2 separate regions of the Homo sapiens genome follow, and region 2 is linked to region 1. Evidence: promoter capture Hi-C in 16 types of primary human blood cells and fetal thymus (Javierre and others, 2016). All regions are on one chromosome and are shown on one strand. Each heading gives the region's core, a stretch centred on a gene start or on the middle of the fragment in contact. The rest is flanking DNA. Distances are from core to core; before and after follow the strand shown. Region 1 holds the start of SELE (selectin E). Region 2 has its middle 37 kb from the start of TBX19.

Region 1 (6,476 bases), core at 2,985-5,484:
CAAGCAATTGCCTCTTATGAAATCCTGATAGGAAAAAGCAGGTGAAGAAGCTATAGTCTGGTTGTAATCCCACTCCCACGCAGCGCTGGCCCAGGGCCTCTCCACGAGAGGAAAGCTGGGTCTGTCTATGGCCCCTTCAGCAGCCCAGGTAGCCAGAGGGGAGCCCATCAGCTCCCAGTATCCATGTACCTGATTTGCAGTGACAACCTCGGGGGCAGGGACACAGAAAATACTGTGGGAGAATGCAGGTAATTGTAAGGATGAATGGATTTTGAATAACATACCTCTGGTTAAAACAAGTACATATATTATATACATATAAATTATATACATACATGTACATATTGTAAACCAAAAAGTAACTGAAGCATATCTCAACAGATTAGAGGTTTATTTTGTCCCAGGTAAAAGAAACACAAATCACTGTAGGATCTGTGACCTGCGCTTTTTCCAAAGAGAGTTTTGGGAACTTCCATCTTTAGAGGGGAAAGAGCAAGCAGGAGGGGAAGAAAATAAACGAAAGATGGGTTGGCAATGAGACAAGTGTTTACATTGTGGCAAGGCTCTGTAACACTCAGTGAGTCTACACTTTACATGTAAAAAGAAGGGACTAGAGGGAAATTATGCATGGATCTCATGCTCAGTACATCTACATTTTATATAAGATAAAGTAAGCATGTGAAATTACAGGTATTTGGGAACAAAAGGAAGGCAGTTTTTGCATGACTCATTTCCCAAGCTTAACTTTCCCTTTGGCATAGTGAATTTGAGGTCTCAAGATTCTATTCTTCTTTCACAGTATTTTACATATATTTATATATAATATATATAAAAATATCTATATTTATATATAAAATATAAAAATATCTATATTTATATATAAAATATAAAAATATCTATATATATAAAATATATAAATATATATAAATAATATATATATTCCACATATATAATATATTGTAATTATATATATATACTCTACATATATTATATATTATATATAGTCTACATTTAAGTTACTGTTACTCACCTATCTCTTCCACTCCTCATTTCTCTTATCCTTCGAATATTGGGATCTCTCCCTGAAGCTTTCTCAATTTAGAAATAATCAGTTTAGAATTTAGAATAATCAGTTTGCCCTTTGACCTTAGAGAAAATTTGCTTTTGAATCAGGAACTTCTGGGAACTGTGGCTTAGGGATCAACTTTACCTAGGCATGGCTCCACCTGCCTTGCTTGTTTTTTCCTTTGTCCACTTTCTCCCTGCCTATGCACCGGGGATCCAGGGTCTGTTCTCACTGCATCCTCTCCCTACTGCTCACTGTCCCTGGGGTCCCTTCCAGCCCCCATGTCTCAGAACCCAGGACACAGTTATCTCAGTGGAGAGCTGTGATGGTCAAGGATGTCTCAGGAAGAAGAGGGCAAGAAGAGTACAGGAAACTTGGGTAGAACAAGGAATCTCGGGGCATAACAACAAAAGAAATCATGGTTTGGAGTAGCAGGTAAGGGAGTGGGCTCTGGATATCAACTGCCTGGTTTCAACCCTTAGCTCTGTGCTTTTGAATGAGATAAAATCCCCAGATTCTCAATTTCCTCATCTGTAAAATGGGGATAATAGGAGTACCTATTTCATAGGCTGTTGTACGGATTGAATAATCAATAGGTGAACATACAAAATGCTCAGAATATGGCCTGGCACATAGTAAGCACTCAATAAATGTTAGAGATTATAATTGGGGGTCCAGGACATATATATGTAAGTAAAATAGAAACTTCATCACCACTGGGGCTATTTTTAGATATCTTTGAACTAATTTTAAAAAGGGGAAGAGATAAACTATAAACTTAGTTATGAAAAATTCGCAATAATAAAGTTAGTTATCTAGGGATGTTAACGACTAATTTCTATTAGCAATATAATTATTAGGTACTTTATTGATATCGAAGATAAATTGTTTTTTAAGATTTGGCTACTCTATACATTTGACCATGCTTTTTAAAAATAGCAGATTATGTATTCATACTTTATTAAAAATAAAATACATACAGATAATGTATTAACCCAACTTGACATTCTGCCCTAAAATCTAAATAAACACTATATGAGTGATTACTCTTCTGAATTTATTGAAGCAACAACCACATTGAGCTAAGTAAAGTGGGATAAAGAATTGGAATAATGTCAGTATCTGGATCATGTAAGAGAGTGGTAAGGTGGAGGGAATAAATTCTATGCTTTTTGATAGGGGTTGAATTAAATTCGTTAATTAAGTTATTTTTTTCTAATCAGTTGTCTTTTTTGGAATTTTTCTTCTCTTTTCTTGTTTTTTTTTTGGGTCTTGACATCTTTATGAACACAGAAAGACCAGTGCTAACAAGTAAAGAGAAAAACGAGGCTTTTACCACTACTCGTTCAGGTCTGCTGACAGTACATTTTTAGATAGACCTCCTATTTTGAAAGGCTGTAGATATAGAATATTAGCTTGACTTGAGCTCTGAAAACCTACAGAATATGGAAATTAAAATGATCCCCATTTACTGTTACCATCATTTAGATAGGGTAAGATGCAGAGATGGGGAATGTATACAATCACCCAGAAGAAATGTCAAAATGAAGAGCAGGAATATAGGATACCACATACATCTCCTTCTGTTGCATTTGGAAACAAATTTCTTTTCTTTTCTTTTTCTTTTTTTCTTTTTTTTTGAGATGGAGTCTTGCTCTGTCGCCCAGGCTGGAGTGCAATGGTGTGATTTCAGCTCACTGCAACCTCTGCCTCCTGGGTTCAAGCGATTCTCTTGCATCAGGCTCCCCAGTAGCTGGGATTACAGGCATGCGCCACTACACCCCGGCTAATTTTTGTATTTTTAGTAGAGACAGGGTTTCACCATATTGGCCACGCTGGTCTGGAACTCCTGACCTCAGGTGATCCACCCACCTCAGCCTCCCAAAGTGCTGGGATTACAGGCATGAGCCATCATGCCTGGCCTAGAGACAAGTTTCTTTAAACTGTATTCTTGTTACTATAAAGGTGAAAAAAAGGGAAATTGAAAAAAACTTTAAAATCCTGAAAATAATAATGAAGGATATAAAAATTATCCCAAATCCTGCCATCCAGAGTTAGTCACTGTTAACATTGTGGAAGAATTTTTATTCTTTGCACATTAACATTTCAAAAATTTTAAACAAAATTTTGACCAATTAAATATATATATATAGTTTTCCGTTTTATTTTTTTTCTTTTCTTTTCTTTTTTTTTTTTTTTTTTTAAGACAGAGTTTCACTCGTTTCCCAGGCTGGAGTGCACTGGCGTGATCTTGGCTCACTGCAACCTCCACTTCCCGGGTTCAAGCGATTCTCCTGCCTCAGCCTCCCGAGTAGCTGGGATTACAGGCATGCGCCACCATGCCCAGCTAATTTTGTATTTTTAGTAGAGATGGCGTTTCTCCATGTTGGTCAGGCTGGTCTTGAACTCCCGGCCTCAGGTGATCCGCCTGCCTCGGCCTCCCAAAGTGGTGGGATTACAGGCGTGAGCCACTGTGCCTGGCCTCCTTTTTATTTTTTTCACTGAACAAACCATGAAACTTTCCCAGATGTAAATATCTATTTCCCATTTTTCTTTTTTTAAAATAAGGCATTATTTTAACCATTTGAGTGTTAGATATTATTTTTAGATAATATTTTAATTTAGGCATAACTGCCGTGCAAAATCTGAAGATTAATATCTACCTTGTGAGTCATTCCTCTGTGAGACAGTGCATGTTAAATATGTTGAATTGGCAGGTGAAAAAGGAAGAAAAAATGAGTAGTGATTGGTTATCCACAGCTATGAATGAGAAATTGAAGGTAGTAGACTATGGATGACAAACCTATTCTTGGTTTCCTTCTGTTTCTGAAATTCTAATTACTACCACAACTACATGAGAGACACTACTAACAAGCAAAGTTTTACAACTTTTTAAAGACATAGACTTTATGTTATTATAATTAAAAATCATGCATTTTTGTCATATTAATAAAATTGCATATACGATATAAAGGCATGGACAAAGGTGAAGTAGCTTCAAGAGACAGAGTTTCTGACATCATTGTAATTTTAAGCATCGTGGATATTCCCGGGAAAGTTTTTGGATGCCATTGGGGATTTCCTCTTTACTGGATGTGGACAATATCCTCCTATTATTCACAGGAAGCAATCCCTCCTATAAAAGGGCCTCAGCCGAAGTAGTGTTCAGCTGTTCTTGGCTGACTTCACATCAAAACTCCTATACTGACCTGAGACAGAGGCAGCAGTGATACCCACCTGAGAGATCCTGTGTTTGAACAACTGCTTCCCAAAACGGTAAGTGCAGAACGCTTTATAAGGGCAGCCTCGGGCCATGAAACACAGATATGCAAAAGGCCTTCTAATAAAAACCACATCTGTACAAGCTCTTATTGTATTGTAGCTAAAACCTGTCTTTTCTCTTTGACCTAAATAATGAAAGTCTTAAAATTTGTTTATTTATTTGATTAAACTCTGAAATAAAGATTATTGCACTAGTGTCCTTTGCCCAAAATCTTAGGATGCTGCCTTAAACATCATGGTAGAATAATGTAACTAGCTACCCACGATTTCCTTCTTTAATTCATTTTGTGTTTTATCTCCCCAGGAAAGTATTTCAAGCCTAAACCTTTGGGTGAAAAGAACTCTTGAAGTCATGATTGCTTCACAGTTTCTCTCAGCTCTCACTTTGGGTAAGTCAGTGCCATTAGACCAAGATTTCTCATTCTCGCACTATAGATATTTCAGACTGAAATATCCTTGCTTGTCTGGGGCTGTCCTGCACAGGATATCTGGCAGCATCCTTGACCTCTACCTGCAATGTGTTCTTCCCTGGGCTTGGGGTCATTTACTTTACCTCTTGGTGTCTCCCTTTCCTTAAGTGTAAAGTGTGGATCATAATGACCTATTTCCCAGATGCATTGTGAGGATTCAATAGCATGGTTCATGGAAAGTACCTCATACAGTGCTTCTTGGTGCATACTAAGTGCTCAATAAAGCTTAGTTATTCTGATTATTATTCTACTACAAAATGGGTATACTATAATGTTGTGAGTGAGTGTGGATAAGGTACCTAGTGGGTGGCAGTCACAAAAGAGATAAACAATAAGTCGCTGTTTCTTCATACGTACTTCTTACTTTTGAAAAGATGAGAAAAGTCTGGGCCATGTCACAAACATTGCCAAAAATAAGACAATAAAAAGCACAGTTGTCAGAGTTAAACCACAACAGTACCAAACTCTACCATTTCTTTTCTTTTTCTCCCACTAGTGCTTCTCATTAAAGAGAGTGGAGCCTGGTCTTACAACACCTCCACGGAAGCTATGACTTATGATGAGGCCAGTGCTTATTGTCAGCAAAGGTACACACACCTGGTTGCAATTCAAAACAAAGAAGAGATTGAGTACCTAAACTCCATATTGAGCTATTCACCAAGTTATTACTGGATTGGAATCAGAAAAGTCAACAATGTGTGGGTCTGGGTAGGAACCCAGAAACCTCTGACAGAAGAAGCCAAGAACTGGGCTCCAGGTGAACCCAACAATAGGCAAAAAGATGAGGACTGCGTGGAGATCTACATCAAGAGAGAAAAAGATGTGGGCATGTGGAATGATGAGAGGTGCAGCAAGAAGAAGCTTGCCCTATGCTACACAGGTAGGGAGTTTGCGGCAGCAGTGGGAGGTAGTTTCAGTGTGTGGGCATCTTGGCAAATTTACAGCATGCAAAAACTGCTCTCTATTGTGGTCATTTTATGTTCCAAAAGATTCTGTTTAACTGCTAAAGTTTCTCTCTTTTGCTGTTTTGTGTGAATGTGGGCAAGAATATGTGGATATGTATATATATACACACACACACATATATACACACACACATATATGTGTGTGTGTATATATATATAGCCTACAGCATTTATATACATTTTATATATATACATACACACATATACACACATATATGTGTGTATGTATATATATAAAATATATATAAATACTGTAGGCAAATATGTAGTTCTTTACATATAAAAATGCACACACACAATACATATTTTAATTACTTGTTTATTTGTGGTAGGGGAACTGTCTTCAGAGTTTGTGAAGAAGTAAATTTTCTACGGTAGGTGCCAGCCACAGCTATACATTAGCATCAAGGTTTAGGATAGGTGGGCCTGAAACTCAGATTTGGAACTTTGTAAAACACTTCAGTTAAAGTCTATGGCACTCTGTAGGACTGCTGATGTCTCTGTTGCACACTGTTGATTCTAAAATCAAAGGCACTCAGTATAAGCACAGTAATAGTCCTCCTCATCATGCTTTGTATTTTCCGTAGCTGCCTGTACCAATACATCCTGCAGTGGCCACGGTGAATGTGTAGAGACCATCAATAATTACACTTGCAAGTGTGACCCTGGCTTCAGTGGACTCAAGTGTGAGCA
Region 2 (6,541 bases), core at 2,100-4,599, 1.4 Mb after region 1:
AGGTTCCTACCTCTTAAACAACAGTTAAATAATTGATCCTGGGCAATGTCATCACCACACCCCCAGGACCTCCTTTGGAACGCCTAATGTCTGAACTGATGAGTAAGCCCTATCCCTGTGTTTCAGAGTGCTGTGAGCCTGCATGACTCACCAACTCTGATTCTTGATCTGTTTTGTGAACTCCCACTAGTTCTGGGCCATGCTCTGGGCCTTGAGTTTTACAATAACTTTAAAGATGAAAATCTTAAAATCACATGCCAAAAAAAAAAGTGAGAGACAGAGATCACATGCTATTTTCCTAGGTCTCAGATCATAGCCAAGTATTTGGCGGGGTACATTTGATTGGGCTGGGAGAGATAAACAGGATTGTCTACGATGAAATAAAACAGCTGCTTTTACTGCAACCAATGCTTCTAGCTGCTCTACATAACAGTTTGCCTTCTGTAAATAATTGTGCTAAACAATAGACCCACCTACAAGATGCTAAGAAAAGTGCAACCGTAGGAATTTAAGGCCAGCTGTTAGCTTTTCTACTCTCTCTGCTCATCTCTGCCCTATCTCTTTTCAGAAAAATATTCATTCCCCATGTGGTCAACACAGCAGGATTCTGGACTCCACAAGTACGCGTCCAATGTTACAGGTTGACCAACTCATCCTGGGAAAATCCAGGCTGTCTCCATTTTAAATTGAAATGGAAATTTTATTGGAAATAAATGGAAATTAATGGAAAGTTTATTCCATTTAAATTGAAATTTTAAATTGAAATGCCTATATCCCAGGAAGCCCCTCAGTCTGAGGCACTGACAAGAAAGTATCAATGGTCCCTATATCTTATCCTCTCTGCAGAGCAAGAAATTTATGGCATCATCTTGCTGGTAACTGACTTGGCAGCAGGCTGACCAAACAGTAGCATAACTTACACATACGGGCTCCCAATTCAAAGTCTAATCAATCATTATAAAGATTACAAAGTCCTTCTCCCTTTCATCACATTTGTGAACTTTAAAACTGCAAAGTTAAGTCTTGGATTTCTGAATGCTTTGGCTACAACACATTTTTGTTTTGTTGTCAATAAGTGCACTTTTTTAAATGTCTATCCTAAAATCAATCACCTCAATACCAATCAATATTTGCCAGGCTTCATTAGATTTTGAGATCACATTGCTCTTAATCAAATTATAATGTGCTCTTACCCACATTCTCCTTCTCCAGGAAATTCAGACTTTCACCAGAATCTGCCCCAAAAGGTTTCTGGAAATGCCCTAGAGATGCTATCCAGTCCTTGGAAGACCAGCAATCTGCCACTAGGCCCCAGATGGTCCCTGGCCCATGAAGCCCTGCTCATTCCACGATCTCCCTGTCTCCCGCTTTCCCACGCCCTACGCCCAGCCTCCTCCCAAGTGTGAACACAGACTCTTTTCCCTAATCGCCACCGCAGCCCTGGGAATCTGATGTAAATGTAACAGGAAACCAAGGGGAAGTGCCAGCTGAGTAACGTAACTGCTCCTGCTTGGGACAATCCTCAGTACAGGGTGACATTGGGTTGTGAATGGGAACAAAAACTTCATCGTCAGGTAGGTCTGAATTCTGCCCCTACTAGTTGTGTTACACTGAAAACCCCATCTACGCTGTCTGAGCTGGCTCCCTCCATCTGTAAGACGAGGAAAATGATAGATAGTATCTATCCCATACGAAAACTCATACATGAATGTTCAAAAAGTGGAAACATCCCAAATGCCCATCAGCTGATGAATGGATAAAAAAGATGTGGCTGTATTTATCAATGGAATATTACTTGGCAGAAAAAGGAATGCAGTACTGATATACGCCACAGCATCAAGGATCCTCTAAGTGAAAGAAGCTAGTCACAAAAGACCATACATCACATGACTCCAGCCAAATGAAGTGTCCAGAATGGGAAATCTATAGAGAAAGAAAGGAGATAAGTGGCTGCCTAGGGGAGGGGGTGGAGGTGAGTAGGAAGGAAGTGGGCAGTGACTATTAATGGGTATAAGCTTTCTTTGTAGGGTGACAAAAATGTTCTAAAATTAGATTATGGTTATGGGCACACAACTCTGTAAATATACTAGAAAAGTCCAATGAATTTCCCCTTTAAATAGGCTGTGTAAATTATATATCAATAAAGCTATTAAAAATAATAATCTGTCTGGGCCCGGCGGTTCATGCCTGTAATCGCAGCAATTTGGGAGGCCGAGGCGCGTGGATCACCAGAGGTCAGGAGTTTGAGACCAGCCTGACCAACATGGTGAAACCCTATCTCTACAAAAATACAAAAAAATTAGCCAAGCATGACGGTGAGCGCCTGTAATCCCACCTACTCGGGAGGCTGAGGCAGGAGAATTGCTTGAACCCAGCAGGCAGAGGTTGCAGCGAGCCAAGATCGTGCCGCTGCACTCCAGCCTAGGCAACAGAGCAAGACTCTGTCTCAAACAAACAAATAACAACAAAAAAAAACTTTTCTAAAGAAATACGATCTTATAAAGACACAACTTTGACAAAAATATACAAAGAACTTTTTATCAAACCAAACATGTTTCCCCACCTAAAATTTCCAAGTACTGCTAAGGATTATTTCTAAAAATTCTGGATTAATACCTGTGGGGTGCCTACCATGTACCTACCAGGCACATGTGCAAGGTGTTGGAGGTACAGCAATGGAAGACAGTTTTTGTCCTCAAGTATAACCAAGACAGTCATCCACCCTGTAATAACACAATTAGCCATTTCTCTAATTTAAATTTCTAACTCTAGTAACCATCAACACCCACCTGCTCAAGTTAACAGAAATCCATGGAGTATCCTCAATCTCTCATGACTTCCTGTCATTACAACCCTGGACATTTTCCCCCAACATATCCCACTTAGCAACTTTAGCCCAGGCCCCAAGTGTTAACGCTTGAGGATCCACTCTTTTAACCCACACACCAGCCATTTTTCTCAAGGCATGGCAGTGTCCAGGTGGCTGCATAAGTCCACATTGGGTCCAGGAGCATCTCTTACCTCCAGTTGCTCTTGTGTGGAAACCAGTCATCCATTCAAACTACTCCTCCCATTGTGGTAATATAATTTTGTCTTAGAGGAAATATACTTTTCCTGCTGCCCAACCTTGGTCTGGGCTAACCCAAGCCATCCAATATATTTCACTACATTTTAACCACAAATAGAAAAGGTCTTTCCTTCTAAGAGATTACTACGTTCCCACCTAAAATATGTCTGATTCCTCCTCAGCAACCTCCAAGCTCCAAGCCCTCCCCATCTAATAAGTATGTAGGAGGGATACCACAGCTCCATCCTCCAGAACCAGCCCTGGTTAACCCAAAACTCCTTGTTAACACTCCTCCCCAAACTCCACCCCCTAAAAAGTGTTCTTTCAGAACAAAGTGAATCTACCCCAAAGGTTTATTGACTTATTCTCTAGGGACAGGGAACTCATCACTAAATAGACATACTTGTGCATACACACACACACACACACACACATAAACACACACAGTTACTCCTACAAAGTGCTCCAAATAAGAGTGGTCATGACCAGAAAATGTGAATTTCCGATGTTTCCATGTTGAGAATGAGAGATTGACCAACTTCTCACTCCCAACTAGTTGAATTCTAAGTCCTCACCTGGGCCTGACCAGTTGCTCTGGCCTCCGGGTTTCCCAGACGCCAGTTTTATTTCAGTAGCCTAGGTACTTTGGCAGGAAGGGGGCTGGAGAACTGAAACGATTGGCTGGAGATGAAATCACAGGGACACCTAAAACTGTCTTCGTGTGGCTGAGTCAGTTCCTGGAAGAGGGCCTCAGGACCAGGTGGCATCTCTTGTTTTGTCACAATGCTAAATCTGAAAGATATCTCAAAGACCAGTTCTTTAGGTTTCACAATAGTGATGTTAGCTATAGGAGTAGATGGGGGAGTTATAAATCATGTGACCCCCAGTTTTGTGATTCTGGGGCAGTAAACAACTTATAGAAAAACAAACTAAGCGATGGCAGGTCATGGTTTAACTATGCCTATTCTACAGCAAAGTCCAAGGCCCTACCACAATTTTAGCCTTGTCTTATGAACGCAGCTTCAGTCTACAAAAAAAAAAAGAAATTTAGCCTGTGAGGTTAGAAGCAAGATGGAGTCAGTCACGTTAGATTTCTCTCATTACTTATTCCAAAAAGGTAGTTTCACCAAGAGTTTGGGGGGGTTCTATTCCTAGAAGGTTGGGGGGTTGGACAGACTACCCCATAGATGTGTCTATAATGATGATGATGGAAAAGTTTTGGTGTCTTCAGACCACAGAGGCTGTTCCTTTATATCTTTTGTGGCACCACATATCCCTACCTTAACCTCTGTTCCAGGATGCCCGTACTCTCTCTGTTCACCAACCTGGCCAGTAGCCAACAAGTGGCTCAAGGATGCCCGTACTCTCTCTGTTCACCAACCTGGCCAGTAGCCAACAAGTGGCTCAATAAAGTGGGAATGGGTGGAGAAAATAAAAAGGAAGGAGTTGAAAGAAGGGCCACTTGAATGCCCCAGTTGCCATCCCCTACTTTGGCTGACCCACAATTTCCGTAAAACAGAATTCATATTCTTCACAAATGTGACATTTTAACTTGCTGATATTCACTCAAATCTATTCTAGTCTTGAAGAAAGTGGTGAAGACCTACCAAGCTTCGAATATCCTTTATTGAGTTTTTTTCTTAATAACTTAGGTGATGAAAACATTCCTCCCCTAATTTGACCACCATCCAGTTCTGGGGGGTGTCCACCAAGTGACACGAAGGGAATCAGCAGTTTCCCATAAGCATCTAGCTAAGCATGGTGGACAGAGGTGGTTGGTAATGAGGCTGGCTCATCCAGGGAAGGGAGGGCTGGTGAGGTCACACAGACTCAAATAAAGGCCCCACAGTAGGGGACACTTTCCAATAGGCCAGGCTTCAGGGAGAGTTAGAATCTCTACCATCTGGCTAAAAGTATTGCATAACTCTTCTATTCAGGTGGGATTTCAGTTTCTCTTAAATTTCATGAAATAGTCCAGAAAACCTGAAAGGCACCATTTTTGTTTTATAGTGAGTTGAGTAGAGAAGATACATGAGCAAGGAAATGGTATACAAAACTCCAAAGTTTGTCTAACACATTACAGAAGCTAATCTGTCACTTACTAAACTGACTTATGTAACTAGTGTTGTTTCTTCTGATCAGAAATTAGCCCTAGACTATTTAAAGAAAAAAATAGAAAGTGTCTCTGGCTAGATAGCTAACAGCAAATAGAGATCCTATTTGTGGAACCAGCTATCATGGTGTGTGTGTTTAAGAATCACAGCAGGTTCCAAGCTGAGTATCCTACAAGACGGAGAGACGTGATCACCCCAAACTCAGCTAATGCTCATGTTATCATGCTGCAGAGGACCCCATTCACCTGAGCAATATAAATGAAAATATAATGGAGGCTACGAGCTTCTTTCTGTTCTGTGTCCCTGGGCCAGGTCTTCTGTCTGCTCCAGGCTAGGGGAAGTGCAGGAAGGGTGAGACTCAAGGTGGGTTTTTATTCCCTAATTACACTTGCTGAGCTCTTGGTACAGGACATGTGAAGGACTTGGTGCCAAGACTTGCTGCAGTGACCAGTAAAGAGGCCTTGGTCAGACCTGCTGTGGCAATTACAGGCCACAGTAGCCTAAAGTTCTAGCAGATTGAGAAATGACCATCTGTTATAACTTACCAAAGTACTGTCTTGCAGAGATACTAATATATTAATACCTTAGTGACCTCTAATGGTATTGTAAAGGGACTGGGAAACAGGAACAATGCTGCCTTAGGGGCATGCTGACCAGACAGCTTTCCAAATGCATGGATCCATTGTGCCTTGGCCACTCACACGCCAACTAGTGGCCCAGAGCGCTGGCCAGGCAACCTGAAGTCAGGCAATGAGTCTTCCCTGGACACCACGTAGCTGGAGTAGTATTGTTTCCTGAGATCCAAAAAACAGAACAGCACAGAAATATTGGGCAGTGACACCAGTTGTGACACCATAGCATGTTAAAGGACCTTTCGCTATAGAAAGAGCCAAGGACTCAATAGTACCATGTTTGGACCCCTCAGACTAAGCCTTGGAGTGGGCTGGGTTTGCACGGGTTCAGCTGATGGAATAGTGGTGGAAGCAGCTGAGCCAATGCTAGGCTCCAAGTGGAACTTTAGACTCCTCAAGTGGCGGCCCTGAGAAGGGCTGCTCAGCCAGTGCAGTCTAAAGTCAATGTTTGGAGAACTGCTCATCACCCAGGTCTGGAAACCTCACTCCCAAGGTTATTAGCACATCCAGTAGTAGGTAGAAAAAGAGGAGGAAGACTCACGAAACTGATTCTGCTCACGGGTTATAGCAATGACCTTGGCTGGGGCAGAGGTAAAAACTCATCTGAAATAAGGTTCCTGGAGTATTTATCATCCTGTTTCTCTCTTCTAGGCAAGGAGTTTCCAAACCTAGCCCAGGGCCAATGCCTGGAGCTCTTGTTTGAAATGCAGATTCCTGAACGCCAGCCC

What was found. Contacts are between HindIII fragments. The CHiCAGO score rates a contact against its expected background, and 5 or more counts as called.
Region 2: a fragment that was not itself captured here is called in contact with the fragment with the promoter of SELE in region 1 in 1 of 17 cell types (naive CD8 T cells); the score reaches 5.4 in naive CD8 T cells.

The regions. Positions count from the first base shown.
Region 1 is chr1:169,731,837-169,738,312 of GRCh38, reverse strand. It overlaps SELE (selectin E), which reads left to right and starts at 4,234. Exons shown (of 14, transcript NM_000450.2): 1 at 4,234-4,342; 2 at 4,653-4,737; 3 at 5,315-5,698; 4 at 6,371-6,476. The coding sequence starts at 4,701. The HindIII fragment of the contact is 3,955 bases long and covers 1,091-5,045 here.
Region 2 is chr1:168,314,748-168,321,288 of GRCh38, reverse strand. No RefSeq gene overlaps it. Among named protein-coding and RNA genes, the nearest start is that of TBX19, 37 kb to the right of the region's middle. RefSeq lists an enhancer at 4-298. The HindIII fragment of the contact is 2,663 bases long and covers 2,018-4,680 here.